Linked DNA regions of Homo sapiens: regions 1 and 3 are each linked to region 2. Evidence: promoter capture Hi-C in 16 types of primary human blood cells and fetal thymus (Javierre and others, 2016). All regions are on one chromosome and are shown on one strand. Each heading gives the region's core, a stretch centred on a gene start or on the middle of the fragment in contact. The rest is flanking DNA. Distances are from core to core; before and after follow the strand shown. Region 1 has its middle 34 kb from the start of SNAI2. Region 2 holds the start of CLXN (calaxin). Region 3 has its middle 12 kb from the start of SNAI2.

Evidence for each region. The method cuts DNA at HindIII sites, captures the fragments that hold promoters and counts their contacts. A CHiCAGO score of 5 or more calls a contact.
Region 1: a contact is called between a fragment that was not itself captured here and the fragment with the promoter of CLXN in region 2, in 2 of 17 cell types (M0 macrophages and M2 macrophages). The highest score is 7.4, in M0 macrophages.
Region 3: a fragment that was not itself captured here is called in contact with the fragment with the promoter of CLXN in region 2 in 2 of 17 cell types (M2 macrophages and M0 macrophages); the score reaches 7.1 in M2 macrophages.

What each region holds. Positions count from the first base shown.
Region 1 is chr8:48,886,023-48,889,807 of GRCh38, reverse strand. No RefSeq gene overlaps it. Among named protein-coding and RNA genes, the nearest start is that of SNAI2, 34 kb to the left of the region's middle. The HindIII fragment of the contact is 3,519 bases long and covers 759-3,785 here.
Region 2 is chr8:48,733,873-48,737,155 of GRCh38, reverse strand. CLXN (calaxin) reads left to right here and starts at 1,888. Exons shown (of 6, transcript NM_024593.4): 1 at 1,888-2,062. The coding sequence starts at 2,005. RefSeq lists an enhancer at 1,809-2,483. The HindIII fragment of the contact is 1,056 bases long and covers 1,434-2,489 here.
Region 3 is chr8:48,907,730-48,911,514 of GRCh38, reverse strand. No RefSeq gene overlaps it. Among named protein-coding and RNA genes, the nearest start is that of SNAI2, 12 kb to the left of the region's middle. The HindIII fragment of the contact is 3,669 bases long and covers 462-3,785 here.

The DNA.
Region 1 (3,785 bases), core at 1,269-3,768, 150 kb before region 2:
GCATTTTATTACCCTAGGGATGTACATCCTGAATGATGCAGAATCCATTGCCCTCTCCTTCGGGAAGAGCAATGGAAACTTCTCCAAACCAATCAACATTACATGGGTTCCAAATGTTTGTGAACCATCACAAAAAATTCTAGCGGTTCAAGTTCACGGCATTGGGGAAGGGGAAATAGGATGACAACCTGCAAGCAGGAGGACAAATAAGGCCATTCGAATGCAGAAGCCTTTCACAGAAATAAGCAGTCTAGAGTTGGAAGCTGAGAAGGTGTGGAAGCACTCTACGCTGCCGGAGATGCCAGAAGACTGCACCGCTCACTGCATAATGTCATGGTTCTCTACTAGAATCCCCAGAACCAGAAACTCACAATTCTGTCTGCACAGACAGATCGTGATACCACCTGTGATGACAGAATGGACACTTGTTTCTCCTTGTTGAGGCCCTATGCAACCCCAAAGCACCAAAGATCCACCAGCCCTGCGGGCCCCAGAATGCACTCTCCTGGAACACCATTGTGTTCTTTTTACCTTATAAAATGAAGACAAAGCATATTTCCTAGGAAACCACTAGCCAATAAGACATGTGACTACTCACAATGTACTGTCATGCTATGAGAATCTATGAGTGTCCTTAGCATCATTCCTTTAACAACTGGAGTTTCTATTTGGCAGCAAACAAGTAGAAGTAAATACTATTAAGTAAGGAATGTGCTTGACATGCTTCTCTACTAGTAATTACAACTCTTTTCAAAGCTTGATTTATTGTTTGTATTTCCACCTGTGAGAGACACATACTTACAGGAAAAGCCCTGATATATTTTGCTCACCCAGATATGTTTATGCCGCATCTCTGGTGGAAAAAGCTCTGTGAAGGACAGATGCAATGTCGAATTCTTGCTGTGATAGCTCTTCTCCCAGTTTTCACATCAAATGATTAAAGCAAATATGCTTCACAAATGCTAAGAAGTTAAAATTAAAATTACTGCAGGAATTCTGAGAGCTGTTTTCAGCCATTGGCCATGGATGTGACATGGCAATTTTGTAGAGTGAATAGGCCTATAATTTGAAGTTTATGTGTTGCTGGGTAATGATAAGTCAAATGAAATAACATTTTCTAGGAAATTTCAAACTGATAGCTTTGTACTAGTAACAACATAAGTTATATAAGTCACAGATCATGATGTGACTTATGATCATGTTCATTCATAGCTCAATGAACTATGCTTGAATTAGAGAAATTGTTGCTACTTTTTAATGGGTATTTCATAAAGTCCTTTTGTGTGTTTGTTTCAGTATCCCAGGGAACATTACTTTCTGAATTAGTTTTAAACTGGTGAGCAAAGCTACATTAGGATAAGATAGAGAAGCTGGAAAAAAGTGAAAAAACAGAAGAACAGAGGTGGAACCAGTGAGTCAGGAGAGGATGCAGGGCAGGGAACTCCACCCAGGGTGTAGCAGCACTAAAGGGCATCTCTGAGGAGAGGGCACGAGGACAGACTGTTCAGCCAGAACAGAGGATCCCAATGGCAGACGATCCCAAGGGAGACACTTGAGATGATAATGGCAACAGAGCCAAAACTGCGATCCAAGAGCCAGAAGATAAGACGGATGCAGGGGTTAGCAAGAGAGTGACATTCTGCTATATGGACAAGGCCGGGAAGCAGACATTCAGATTCTACTCTAATCTGTGCTTTGCTCACGGTCATCAAAAACTGGCCTCACTAAATCAATAGTTGTGCAAAGTATTAGTCAATGAAAATGCCTAAGCAGGATAAAGAAAGTGGTCATTCATTGTAATTGGAACTTAGTTTGAAGTTCAGCAGTACCACTTATATAGTAACGTATATAGCACTGCTAAGCTCCACACTAAGTTCTGACATTCACACCGACCTCGTGGTGTTCACGACCAGCCCACTGAGATTACCTAGCACAGTGTATTGGAAGGGGATTCATAATAAACACAGCTTACAGCCTATACATACACACACACACACACACAGAGACACACACACACACATCTTGCTGCAATCTTGTGATGAAACTTGAATGGATGAGCAAATAAAGTGGTTTCTTGAGAGGGAAGCTATTCTGGGTGAAGATGCAGTGAACACTGCTGAAAAGACAACAGAGGATTTAGAATATTTCATAAACTTAGTTGATAAAGCAGAAGCAGGGCTTGAGAGAATTGACTCCAGTTGCATCAAACTTTATTGTTGTCTTTTTAAAAGAAATTGTCATAGCCATCCCAGCCTTCAGCAATCCCTACTGTGACCAATCAGCAGCCATCAACATTGAGGCAAGACCCTCCACCAGCAAAAAGATGACAACTTACTGAAGGCTGAGATGATTGTTATCATTTTTTAGCAATAAAGTGTTTTTAATTAGGTATATACTGTTTTTAGACGTGGTACAGCTGCACACTTAATAGTCTATAGTAGAGTGGAAGCATAACTTTTATTTGCTCCTGGAAACCAAAAAATTGTGTGATGCATTTTATTGCAATATTCACTTTATTGTCATGGTCTGGAACTTAACCCACAATATCTCTGAGGTACACCTGTATTTAAGATTAAAGAGTAAGCAGAAGAAAGCAGAGAAAATAAGAAAAATGCATTTTTATCGCAATTAAGATCGAAGTGGAAGCACAGAATGGACCATCAATATTGGAAAAGAGGGGGAAAAGGAGAGAAGAGGAGATGGAAAATGAGAGAAAAAGAGAGAACTAAGAGAAAGAGGCTTTCTCTGTCATGACTTATCTTCTGCATATTCTTAGAAACAGTTTTGCACTGTCCCTCATCTGGAGTATCCTTCTGCAGACTCTATAAACATGTGGTATAGCAAGAAAGCACTTGATTCTGGCTACCTGTCAAATGTTCCATCCACATTTAACTTAATTTAATTTAATTTAATTAACAAAGAGAGCAGAGTGGTCATTCCCATAGTAGTAATAACAGCTTTATGTCAGGGGAATAAGTATGCAGAAGCAAACTACAAGGGAGTACCCTGGGGCAATGCCCACGTTTTCATATTGCTTTCTTTCATTATTTCAATGCCTAGGATTCAACTGCACGGCCTTCTATGATCTATCCTAAAAACTCACTTGGTGCCACTTCAACCATATGCTATAGTCGGAACAACCTAAACCTTGCCCAGATTCACAGGAGGAACATAGGAAGATCTCACTCTCCACGGAAAGAATGCCAAGGTCACATTGTAAAGAAGCCTATAAGATGGGAAATATTACTGTGAGCACCACTGGAAAATACAGTCTACAACAAACATTTTCCAGAAAGCCAAGGAAGCTGTATCTCAGGTACAAGGCAATGATCACTGATGTAAGCCAGGGGGTAGAATCTTCAGGGAAGATCAATGCATGGCTAGAGGACTTCCTGCTGAAAGTCCCTATTTCCTATGGATCTTCAAACTGCTGACATCAGGACTGGATAAGAAATAGGATAATTTGGTTGCAAAGTTCAAAACTTTGGGCTTTGAGACTGTATCAGGGACAATAATACATAAGTGGCCATGAGGAGCACAGGGAAATAGTTAACATTTTACACAAATATGCACGTATTTATTATTCAGTGCTAATGTGTAAGTAACCCACCCTGTCTTTGGCTTTTGCACAACAGCTTCTCAAGATGACAAGAGCCCTCAGAATGTCCACACTTCTGAGAGCTTCGGTATTTTAATCCATTCAATGAGGATAATATAACCTTGCAGTGTATGTTGGTGAATTGATGGATTGATTGATTTAACAACAATTATTGTTGAGTTTTCCT
Region 2 (3,283 bases), core at 639-3,138:
CACCAATGTGCTCACCAACAGCGCAGGCCTGCTCCCCAACACAGGCCTAGTACATCAGGTGGGGAGCCCACAGCGTCTCTTAGTAATTACTGACAACCACTCTTTCGGTTCCTTGTCTCTTGAAGTGAGCAGTGCAGCAATCTCTAGGAATTAAGTATTTGCTACAGCTCTGTGATCCAACAGAAATCAATAAGGTGTCACAGGTAAGTATAATTCAAATATGTCCAGTCTTTCCCTTTTGTTCTCTATGGTCTCAGGAATTTCACTCTTCTAGACAAGGGGATATGTAGAAACACTATTTAAAAATACTACTGTTACAAACTCATAATCACCATCAATTCATATCGGGTAACTGTTGTTAGGACATTTGCTTTAGGATAACACAGTCCATGCCTTTACCAAGCACCCTTTGCTCTAGTTTCAAACAGCATCCCAATCCTTCATTCCACAAACAAATGAAACAGTAAAGAAAAACCAGAGGCCTCGACATTGGAATTATTTCATTTGGGATTATTACTCATGGTTAGTAGAATTTTTCTGCCTTCAGTCTAAAAATGCCAGTATGTGTACAATAACATAGTTTGTCATTTTCCCCTCTGAAGTTAAACGAGCAGGCACTCTGGAGAATACTGTAGATTTGGTGATCCTGGCTGAGCCACCCCTTTTTATTGCTGCCTTAGCTGAAAGAGGATATCCCCTCTGTGATCAGGAAAAGCAGAAAGTCCTCCCACCCTGAAGATGTAAGGAATATCCTTTGTCTGCCGGCACAGAACTTGTCTTTCAAATAAGTAAAGGACCAAGGTTGCTGAGATATTTTCCGGAAAAGCAAGATTGGGCTGTACCCCACACCCAAGTGGTGTTGTCAGCCCGTTTTCATTGGGGGGAATGCCTATTTAAGCAGTATAAAAATTCCTCGTGGCTTTCCTCAGATTCCACAGACAACCTCCATCTTTTGGAAGTGAGATGAGGGCAGTGGGAAAAGAAAAAAACTACAGTCACAAGCCACATAGCGCCATTTAAGTCAACATCAGACAACATTAGGACAGTGGTCCCATAAGATGTAACACTGTACTGGAACACTGCACCTTCCCCAGAGTGCTTAGCACTCTGTTTTAGCTGCCTGCAGCATTCCGCGCTGTGACCTGCTGTGCAGGGGTGCAGCCCAGAAGCAATGGGTTGTACCATACAGCCTGGCGTGCAGTAGGCAAGGCCATCTAGGTTTGTGTCGGTGCACCGTGATGTGCACACAGTGATGAAATCTCCTAGTGACCTCGGAACGCGTCCCGCTCCTTAGGCAACCCGTGGCTGTATTCCAATTTCCCCTTGCTCTCAGAAACACAACTAAAAGCTCGAAGACCTCAGGTGACAGACTGCCTCCTGTTACCTCACCAAGACTGAAAACCTAAGCAGTGGCTCCGCCCAAAGAGCAAGCTTCTAGCCCTCTGACGGGAGGCCCGGCAAGATCGTCCTCTGGACAGCACCTTGCTATTTTGTGACGCTGCTCCAGCCCCCAAGATGTCCAAGATCTTGGGCCTTCCCTTGAGGCGTGACGCTCACGACCCGAAACACCTCTCATACAGCGTGCACACCACATTTCAGATTTTAATGATTTACACTGCAATCAAGCAAAGAGGCTGCGAACTCAAAAGCCAGCAACAACTGAACATTTAAACTCCAACGTCAACAGTCAGAATACAGCCCTCAAGGCGGCCAGCTGGGACCCTGCCGGCGGCACCGCGCACCGAGAACCCAGCGCGAGCAGTCGCTGAGCCGATGGGCGGGGCCCAGCTGTAGCTTTGGCTACGTCGCGGGCAGCCTGGGAGCCAATCCGCGGCGGGCTGAGCCGTTGCCTTGGCTACACCGTCTGTTAGGGCCGCGCACGAGATCAGTAACTGAGACCTCACCGCGTTGACCCAGCACCAGGGCTCGCGGGGGTCCCGCGAGGGTCTCGGTAGCCGCGCGCCCAGAGACCCCCGCCGCGGCCCGATTCTCTGAGCGCCAGACATGAACCGCAAGAAACTGCAGAAGCTGACGGACACCTTAACCAAAAATTGCAAGCATTGTAAGTAAGAATGTAGTGCTGGACAGGCCGAGGCTCCTGGACCGAGCCTGGGTCCCACCCCGTGCTAAGGTCCGCTGTTGTGCCTGCTTCCCGCCTGCTGGGACTCTGTGGGCTACCTACCGCCCCTCCACCCCGGCCCCTTAAGCAGAAGTCAGAGAGGGAATCCCGGGGTGCCAGCTCCTTGCGTTTGATCTTAGGAACCCAGGCCTCCGCCTCTGGTGCTACCTACACTCCCACACATGCATTTACTTGCTTCTCCAACCCTCTTCTTTTACCTGATAGAAACATGTGATGTTAGCCTCAATGAGGTGTAAAATAAATGCTAAAACCAACTGGTCTCAAGAAAAGTAGCACCACCAAGGTAGACCGTGCACTCACCCTGCTTTATAGCTCGCACATACACCCGCAGGTCCAAGTTCTGGAAGCTTACCAAGAGACCCATAGGAGAAAACGGTGCTCAACTTCTCAACATCTTTCGGAGAGATGAGTTGTGTCATCTCATCTGTGCCTCAGAACAATATTTGTTTGGAAACCAGAGTTCAGCACAACTAAACACGTGGTAAAGAATGGGTTCCCAACTTTAGACTCCCACTTTCCAGTGGCCCCTGGTGTTGAAAGATAAAGGAGACTTTGCAGGTGACAAGATGAGCCCTATTTGAAGGCACCTGCTCTAATCTCGCATTTGAAAGGGTGGTCCTAGAATTTCATAGGAAACTTTGAGTTTATATTCAGACTGAAAAACATAATTGCACTTTAGCAAGGAAGCCGTGGGTATGGTTTAGATGAGGAAGATAATTTCCTGTCGAGCAAACTTAGAAGTTGTGTGTGCTAATTGCAAAACTACTGGCCACTTGAAGAAACAGAAGCAACAATCCCCCAAATAACCGAGTCGCTCAAAAAAGAAGGAATAAACATGTTGATGTAGTTTTAGAGATTGTAAGATCTAGTGCATTCTAATTATCATTAGTATCTGATTTAATACCTGGTAAGAAATGCTCTCTTAGTGGATGGTGATATAAATGAATATTATGGTGTGTGTACGCATCTTAAAATGTTTAGGAAAAAAATCCTGTAATTTAAGATATTATTATGACTACTATACTCTGATGAGGGTTTTGTTCTGTTATTGTTTTTCTTAAAACACTTTCATTTCTGGGAGAATAGGTATTCTTCTAGTAAACATCTAGTAAACATTTTTGATAAATATTCAAAAACAATGCA
Region 3 (3,785 bases), core at 1,047-3,546, 170 kb before region 2:
GGGTGCATGTATACTTTCTTTACCAGTTCATCTACTTAAGCTCCTCTGGTTACAAGCATCAGTTTAATCCGTTTAGCACTTTCTTTTGAAAATATGTAGAGATAGTTGTGAGGCCCTTTGAATGATCACTAAGTAATTTTTGTAGACAGTGGCCGGGGGAAGGGCCCGTCATTCACTCGTTTCACCAGTTAGGACAGCAGAGAAGGATGTGACGATATTCTCCACGAATCTGTTCTGGGGCTTGAATCAACTGTCTCCCAGATAAGGAGCAACACTTAATATGGTTCTTCTATATAGTTGGGAGGTAGCAATAGCTAATTCTAAGGAATGGAAAGGGAAGGCCTGGATTGAATAAAATAGTGATGTCTTCTCTGGCCAAAGGAAATGAATGCTAATTCTATTTCTTGTGAGTTCCAGCTTCTCTGCCCATACATCCTTCAGACCTATAGAGGTTTAAAGCTTTCCCGTATTGTGTGATAACCTGTTTTTTGTTTAATTTAGCAGAAAAGGCGATAATAGAAGGTATCGCCTTCAGTCGCACACAGCGGGAGAGCAGGGTGCCTGGAAGGTGCCTGCGCTCCACGTTTGCCGCTAGGAATGGGGACGGGGGGCCTGAAAACAGGATCCCCCGGAAGCCAGCGTCCTCTGCTCCTGCGCGCTCTGCAGGGCCCCCACCCGGATCCCGGATTCACAGAATAGTGCGCTGGGGCTGCTGCGATGTACTGCTCCGGTTTCCACTAGAGGCTTCTGGACACCCTGGCTCGCCCTGCTCCACGAAGGCCAGAGAGGCTGGGCAGGGCTCTCAGCAGTGACGCTTCTAAATGGGGTTTCTTTCCACGCCTCAAGGGCTACCCTCCGTAGTGACGCAGGCCTTGGGCCCCTGCAGACCAGGAACCTCTGACTTGTGCCTTGGACCTCGACGTTCCTCCTGCCGGTCTGGCGGTTCCTGGAGGCCTCCTGGGCTTCTGCCTGGAACATCTGAGGCAATTCCGGCTGAGAGCGCGGCTTCTGCGGGTCCTGCGCTGGAACCATCATTTTTCTTAAATGTTTGGAATTTTGCCAAAGGGATGTTACCTGATGCATTTTTCTCCAGTTCTCTGATTACTTTTATTCATGTCATTTTATTTTATTCCTTTATTATATATTAACATTAATGCAAATTTGAAAATAAGTTTCGTTGGGGGACATCGTTGTCTCCAAGTTGGTGACAAGCATCTCTTCCCTCTCTTTTAAATGCTTTTATTTCATAACACCTAAACAAGTCCAAAATGCAATAAAATAATAGATAATTAGATAAATAAATAATAGATAATTACGCTTATTAGGAGGTCTGCCACCACCTCAGGTCGTGACTTCCAGGAGGTGGGTGGGAGGAGGCCTGCAGGACCATCGTGCCCTGGAGCTGCTGTTTCTTCCCTCCTCCCCCTGTGCTTGTCCAGTATGGGCTTCAGAGCTGCTCTGAACTCTGGTGGTGACTATAAATTATATGTCCTTGGGGATAAAGACATTCTTCTGAGTACCAGCCTAAAACACACAACTGATCCCTGATGAAGCCTTAGTGACCACTGGCCCCACTTCCCCATCGCTGTGTCAGGAATGAGGCTCACATCCCAGCTGTGCCTTAGCCTGAGGGGTCAGAAGTAGAGCCCTGGCCCCCCTCCATCTTCAGAGATTAGATGGTTTGAAGCAGCCTGTTGCCTCCAGAGAGGAGGAGAAGGGAGGCCCCAGAGGCCATGGGTTGCTCACCCATGGCAGGAAGGAAATCAGAGGAGCAAGGATAGGGTTGCCTCCGAGATGATCAAACTTCAGCGACCATGGGAATCAGCTAGAGGGTGTGTTAAGGCAGGAATTGTTGGGTCCCACCCCCAATTTCTGAGTGAGAGGGTTTGTAATGGACCTGAGAATCTGCATTTCTAACCTGCTCCTGGGGGAAGATGGCACAGCCAGTGTGGGGACCACATTCTGAGAATAACAGAGTGGGAAGTTAGGAGCCAGGACTGAGCCTCTACTGTTGTAGTTAATGATGTGCTGTAAATCACAAGTTTTATACAACTTCAGAATCCCTTCTCTTTCTCCTCTTATTTATTGCATGCCTACTATTTGCCAATCAATCACTGTTAGGTAGTCAGTGAAAAGAAGGATTGAACAAGACCCTTTAGTGAAAAAAGAAAAAAACAGAAACTTTTTTTTTTTGAATGACTTTAAATTCCTTATCAATGCCTTTTTTAAAAAAAGAGTCTACATCACAGGGGCTTTGAAAGAGTTTGAAATCAAGCTGAAAAGATATACTATAAAATATGCAGGGATGGAAGGGGTGTGGAGTAGGGGCTCCCTTACATAATGAAAAACCTTTACATAATGAAAGAAATAAATTATAGCTTGCATAACTATGATGGTTTCTTTATAAAATTAAATTAAGTGAGGATCTGGCTTGTTTTTTGTATCTCAGGGTTTTGAATAATTTTCTTGAGTTCTAGGCTAAAATAAATGAACTTGTTTGCTGTAATGGGGCTTTTCCTGGGAGGATGAGCACTGATCAGCTACAGATTTTTCTCCATGAACACAGCCAGACAAGCCCCTCTTGGATTCTGCTTTTTAAATCAAAAGATGTAAAAGGATCTTTTGTGTTACTGCTTTCCTGAGGCAATAAAAAGGCAATAAAAAAGAATTAGAAGAAAAGATTACTCTAAAACATAACTTTCAGATTTTTTACAATTTAGGAAAATCTCAACAGCTCCAGGGCTGAGTTGCCAGTGGGTGCTGGCTGGACCCAGGGCCAGGCGTGTGTGTCTCCAGGGGATGCCAGCTCCCACCACTGCTCACGCCAAGGATGAAACAGCCCAGGTAATTTTCCACAGAGGTGTCCTGATTGATTTCAAAGGCAGCCATTCTCTTCTTTTCAATTTGGAAAACCTTAAACAGGAAGAGTGCTGCATTTGTAATTGTCTTTCAGAAATTACTTTTGGGATGTTTGAAATAACAGTGGGCAAATATATAATATAATATACCATAATATAACATAATATAATATAATATAATATAATACATATACTATGTTTTTTTAAAAAAACAACTGGTGCAACCATGTTCTAATCCAGGCCATAGTGGTTTTGTTATTTCAGCATAGCAGTTGGAAGATCAGCGCTCTGTCCTCAGACTGGCCTTGTTTCAGGTTGCTGCCTTACCATGTATGTTATGAGGTGGGTAAGCTGCTCTCTGTCTCATCAGCTCTATGGTGGAGACAATTCCTGGACCCAGGTGAGTGGAGGAACTGATGACAAGCACATGCCATGGTGTCCTGCACAGTGGAGCGGAGCTTGGTGTTTTATTTTATTTTTTCCTTAAAGTTGAGCCTGGCTTTTTTTTTTTTTTTTGAAACGGAGTCTCACTCTGTCGCCCAGGCTGGAGTGCAGTGGTGCATCTCTGCTCACTGCAAGTTCCGCCTCCCGGGTTCATGCCATTCTCCTGCCTCAGACTCCTGAGTAGCTGGGACTACAGGTGCCCGCCACCAAGCCTGGCTAATTTTTTGTATTTTTTTAGTAGAGACGGGTTTCACCATGTTAGCCAGGGTGGTCTCCATCTCCTGACCTTGTGATCCGCCCATCTTGGCTTCCCAAAGTGAGCCTGGCTTTCAATCCATACCCACTAACACTCAGAAGAAAGCTGAAATTGTACTTTTTACCTACTGAAAACATTGTCTTACCCCTGCCTACTAGAAAGAGGCATTCATTCTTCTCTCATCAGTCTCTCCTACCTGCTCTTCATCATTGTTTAATACAAAACCA